Linked DNA regions of Homo sapiens: region 1 is linked to region 2. Evidence: promoter capture Hi-C in 16 types of primary human blood cells and fetal thymus (Javierre and others, 2016). All regions are on one chromosome and are shown on one strand. The core of a region is centred on a gene start or on the middle of the fragment in contact, and the rest is flanking DNA. Distances in the headings are between cores, read along the strand shown. Region 1 overlaps WDR1 (WD repeat domain 1). Region 2 holds the start of MED28 (mediator complex subunit 28).

What was found. The method cuts DNA at HindIII sites, captures the fragments that hold promoters and counts their contacts. A CHiCAGO score of 5 or more calls a contact.
Region 1: a contact is called between a fragment that was not itself captured here and the fragment with the promoter of MED28 in region 2, in 1 of 17 cell types (monocytes). The highest score is 6.1, in monocytes.

The regions. Positions count from the first base shown.
Region 1 is chr4:10,103,911-10,106,610 of GRCh38, reverse strand. WDR1 (WD repeat domain 1) reads left to right here. Exons shown (of 15, transcript NM_017491.5): 3 at 2,625-2,700. Among named protein-coding and RNA genes, the nearest start is that of WDR1, 12 kb to the left of the region's middle. The HindIII fragment of the contact is 1,084 bases long and covers 778-1,861 here.
Region 2 is chr4:17,613,307-17,616,006 of GRCh38, reverse strand. It overlaps MED28 (mediator complex subunit 28), which reads right to left and starts at 1,366. Exons shown (of 4, transcript NM_025205.5): 1 at 1,194-1,366. The coding sequence starts at 1,352. MED28-DT (MED28 divergent transcript) reads left to right here and starts at 1,427. Exons shown (of 3, transcript NR_186331.1): 1 at 1,427-1,865; 2 at 1,969-2,075. RefSeq lists enhancers at 1,217-1,326, 1,427-1,716, 822-2,021. The HindIII fragment of the contact is 7,436 bases long and covers 1,276-2,700 here.

The DNA of each region.
Region 1 (2,700 bases), core at 70-2,569, 7.5 Mb after region 2:
GCATCTTCCATCTCTGGATGCCCTCCCCAGCGGAAGGCCCATGGGAGCCCCACCCTTTCTACGGCAGCACGGCCTGGGGAGGAGGTCGTCCAGGCTGGGAGAGCCCACGAGGCCATCTGTCTGGCGGGATGGGCAGGTGCCCCTGTATGTGAGCGTGAGACCTCCCCCATCCCCAGTCAGCTGTGAGTGTACACCGAACAGGGTCTTGGAGGGGCTGCCTGTTAAGTGGATCATTTTCTTGCCAGGTGCTTTGGGTAGGGATGTGTCAGTGTCAGAATATGAAGGACTAATTGGAGTGGGAGAGGGTTGGATTGGGCAGACATTTAATAAATAGCCAGCATCTTAGTTTTATTGAGGTGTACTTTAGATACAGTAGAATTTGTCTGTATTCAGTGTGTGGCTTGGATCTTGACAGATGACCTATATAGTCCCATAAGCACCACCCCTGTCATGACAGAACATTCCTGTCACTCCGGAGGGTGCCCCCCGCCCCCGCCACCCCTTCCACCCTCACCCCCAGCAGCTGCTTATCTGCTTTCTGTCATTGGGGTTGCCTTTTCTAAAATCTTCTTTCATATGAAGTGAGAGGCAATGTGTAGTCTTTTCTGTCTGGCTTTTTCACTTTGCATAACATGTTGGCGATTGATAGCTGGTGTTGAGTGCATTTGCACTTTGTTCCTTTCTATCACTAAGCAGTGCGGTGTGTTGCCTGTTTCTCTGTTCACCTGTTGATGGATATTTGGGTATTTCCAGTTTTTGGCCATTGCAAAGAAAGCTTCTGTGAACATTGCTCCTGTGTCTTTTGGTGGACACATGCTTCCATTTCTCCAGGGCAGATACCTAGGAGTGGGGTTGCTGGTGTTTGGTGTGAGTAGTGTCTGTTTAGGTTTATAAATAACCTGCCCAACTCTTTTCCAACTGTACCATTTTGCATTTCCACCAGCAGTGTGAACATTCCAGTGTCCCCACCCCTCTACCCTTGCCAGCACTTGGTGATGTCAGTCTTTTCTTTTTATTGATTCTAGTGAGTATGGAGTGGTATTCTGTTGTAGTTTTGACTTGCATTTCCCAAGACTAATGACACTGAGCGCTTTTTCATGTGCTTACTTGTCATTCGTAGTATCTTCTTTGGATAGACACCTTGATACATTCTAATTTCACTGGCGAACGATTATCCCAAAATGGATTAATTTATGACTGGTGTCTATTATATCACATAATGCTGTGTTAAGTCTTAGGGATGAAAGAGAAGGTCTGTGTGTACTTCTTTTTTTCTCCCCCAAACCACTTATTGAGATGGCTAGTGAGATAAAGGTCATGTTAAGCAGGGCACAGCAGAGTTGGAGGAGATGGACAGGAATGCTAGGGACTATGATGTGTGTTGTGCCATCCCGGTGGACATGTTAAATGATCTGGAAGCACAGAAGAGTTGATACGGATAGCTTGGGCCATACTTGGAGGCTTCATGGAGGAGGGAACGCTTCCGTTAGGCCTGATGGGTGAGTGGGTGTCCGTAGGCAGGGAGAGGTGCTGGCCAAGGGCACAGACTACACACAGACGTGGAGCTTAAACAGGATGGCAGAAGGTGGGCAGGAATCAGGGTCTGTACTTCTGTGGTCTCAGTCTCGTGAGATGGGGGCCCCTCAGGTCTTGAGGAGGGGTCTAAGGGAGATGAGGGGTGGGGTGGCAGCAGGTGGGGTCATGCTAGGGGTGCCCGGGCACCCTCACAGGAGTCTGGTGTGTCCTAAGCCTCAAGCTGGCGGGAAGCTGCCTCTTTCAAAGAGCACTTGGTTTGTAAAAAGCTGACAGTAGGTAGCAGAGATTAGATGGCCATGTCTTTATTCCCTCCTGAAAGAAAGCTTCACTGTGGAGACAGATTGAGAGCAGCCCAGTGTGTGTGTGTGTTTCTGTTTCACTGAGGCCCTGCGTGTGTGTGTATGCCGGGAGGGAGGCGCAGGGATCTACTTTTAGCACATTACATGTTGAAACCTCATTGCTGAAGATGCTTCTAGTCTCAAATGTTGGCCCCATTTTTGCCACAAAGTCCACCCAGCCTTTGATCTGTGCTATGCAAGGGAGTGGGGAATCGACTTTCCTTTCCAAACCCAAGTTTTTGATAGAGAGGGCTCCCACAGCGTGTCCTGCTCTGCTCCTGCACAGCACAGCCAGGCGCTGAGTTTGGGGTCCAACATTGATTGGCAGCCAGGAGAGCTGGTCCTAAACACGGAAGAGAACAGAGCGCTGGAATGAATGCAGCTTCCCACAAATGGGAGGGATTAGAACCAGGGCTTCTTGCTCTAATCCACCTTTTGTGTATCTGTTTCACTGATATATTTGTTCTGTATTATGGAAAGTACAGAAAAGCAGAAAAGGAAAAAAATCACCTTGTTGTACAGTCATAGACTAAGGAGAACGAATTAAAGTAACATGAAATTCTATCACCCAGAGATAGGTAGGCAGGCAGTAGATACGTAGGCAAGTGGTATGCTTCTGCGGTTTTCTTCACGGTTTTAGCTTCAGTGTTTCTTTGTACACCCCTTTCACCCCATATCTGTTGATGTGGAGAGCTGGAAGCTTGACTGCTTCTCCATTCCTTCTGTTCATTCCGGGGTCTCCTCCTGCAGAACCCAGCCCTTGCTGACATCTACACAGAGCACGCCCATCAGGTGGTGGTGGCCAAGTATGCGCCCAGCGGATTCT
Region 2 (2,700 bases), core at 117-2,616:
CCTGGGCGAGAGAGTGAGACTCCATCTCAAATCATTTATTTCTAAATCTTTGTACATCCGTGTGGTAAAAGCATTTTGTCCATGCAGTCTGAATAATCGCTTGCAAATTATATTCATTTACCACTGTGCTATTAGATACAATACAAAAGTCACAAAGTTGGGATTTTTATTTATTTATATTTTATTTTACTTTTTTGAGACGGAGTCGAGCTCTTGTCACCCACGCTGGAGTGCAATGGCGCGGTCTCCGCTCACTGCAACCTCCGCATCCCAGGTTCAAGCGATTCTCCTGCCTCAGCCTCTCGAGTACCTGGGATTACAGGCGCACGCCACCACGCCTGGCTAATTTTTGTATTTTTAGTAGAGTCAGGGTTTCACCATGTTGGTCAGGCTGGTCTCGAACTCCTGACCTCATGATCCGCCAGCCTCGGCCTCCCAAAGTGCTGGGATTACAGGCGTGAGCCACCGCGCCCGGCAAAACTGGGATTTAAAATGTGGAAAAGTTAACTCCAATTTGAACGTACATTACTTTATTACTACACAGGAATAGCTCATCTTCCACTTTAAAGACTACTGGAAATCACCAGAGCACTTATTTTCACCTCTCTATCTTCCCTCAATATACAGTTCACCTTTCTTGCTACAAGGTAAACTCCTTGGGCAAAACTGAGAGATTGGGTCACCTGTGCCTCCCTCCCTCCCTAACCTCCAGCATTCCTCCTTCCTCAGCTCTTAGTACCAAGCTGCGCCTGGTAACTTAAGTCAATTTCCGCTCTTAAGAGTCCCTTTAGGATCGTTTAAAGGTGAAGCCCAGCGGAAAGGATACAGGATACAGCAGTGAAACTCTCAGCTCCGAAAAGGCTTGAGCCTCTTACTAAACATGCAGGGATGCAAGAAACGGTGCTCGGGGATGAGACTAAGGACCGGCTGGGAATCTGGAAGGGTTCCAAGTTTGGGGTTTAGGCAAACTTCGGGTTCACGTTTCCACAAACGTCGAGTTTACGCGCCCCCGCCAGCAGACCTGAATTGAATACGGGCCACGGGGAAGCCTAAAGCAAGTGACTTACTTTAAGCCTCAGTTTCCCCATTTGTGAATTAGTTGCTCGGATCCCTGGAGGAGATACGCGTACGCGCAGTTCACGTTTCAGAAAAAAGGGAAGGCTAGGGACAAAGACGCCCATGTCTTATATTACCTCGAAAGATGACTCCAACTCGTCCACCAAAGTACTGCTGGAAGGTCTAGGAGCGCCTGGAGCTGCCTGAAGAAGCGAAGCTTGGCCCGGAAGGCCCGGCGGGGCCTGAGGGGGACCGGGTGGCTGCCCAGAAAACATACCCCCTAGTGGAGCCGCCATGTTTGGAATGGCGCAAGAGAGATCCACTGCGCCTGCGCGGAAGCCGGCTCAGAAGCTCACGTGGCTGGTGTAGTAGGCGTGGTCACGTGACAGGACCGAGCGATGGGAGGATTCTGGTGCACCCCGGAAGGAGGATTTTTAATTCTTCTGTTTTCTTGTCTATCGCAAAACAGAGTTTACATGTATTTTCCTTTTTTCTTAGCTTAAGAATTGAAGACTTTGGCCGGATTAGACCTGGTTGTGTGGAGAGGAGAATTAATAACTACAGTGGAGCGAGCCCTCCTGCGAGAGTCAGGATACTACTATGCTAGTCCCGACTCTGCCCCAAATGCCTGGAGAGACTTTGGCTAAGTCACTTTTTCTTTCCGCGGGCTGTTTACCGTTGGTAAAAGGAGAGGGTCACCCACTCACTCCACAAACATTTGTTGAGTCATTGGTTATAGCGGGAACAAGACAGGCAAAGTTCTTCCTGAATTCTGGTCGGAGATGGATAACGGAAACAACTTTGTTGAGGTTCCCAATGTGCCCGGCACTGATGTCTTTAAATATTTATGGTTACATCAAAGAGAAAGTCACTATGCTAATCTTTTTTTTTCTTTCTTTTCTTTTTTCTCAGGGTCTCGTTCTGTCGCCCTGGCCGGAGTGCAGTGTCATGATCAGGGCTCGACCTCCCGGGCTCAAACAATCCCCCTACTTCAGCCACCCAAGTAGCTAGGACCACAGGTGCGTGCAGTCGCGACGGGCTTTTTTTTTTTTTTTTTTTTTTTTTTTTAGTTGAGTCAGGTGTTTTACTGAGCTCAAGTGATTCTACCGCCGCGGCCTCCCAAAGTGTTGGGAATACAGTAATGAGCCAAGGCGCCAGGCTGCTAATTTTTTTTTTTTGAGACAGAGTCTCGCTTTGTCGCCCAGGCTGGAGTGCAGTGGCGCGATCTTGGCTCACTGCAAGCTCCGCCTCCCGGGTTCACGCCATTCTCCTGCCTCAGCATCCCGAGTAGCTGGGACTACAGGCGCCCGCCACCACGCCCAGCTAATTTTTTGTATATTTGGTAGAGATGGGGTTTCACCGTGTTAGCCAGGATGGTCTCGATCTCCTAACCTCGTGATCCGCCCGACTCGGCCTCCCAAAGTGCTGAGATTACAGGCGTGAGCCACCGCGCCCGGCACTAGGCTGCTAATCTTGTAGTAACCTGCTTTTAACATTTGCTTATCTCTCTCTTTTTTTTTGGTGACGGAGTCTCGCTCTGTCGCCCAGGCTGGAATGCAGTGGCGCGATCTCGGCTCACTGAAACCTCCGCCTCCTGGGTTCAAGCAATTCTCCTGCCTCAGCCTTCCGAGTAGCTGGGACTAC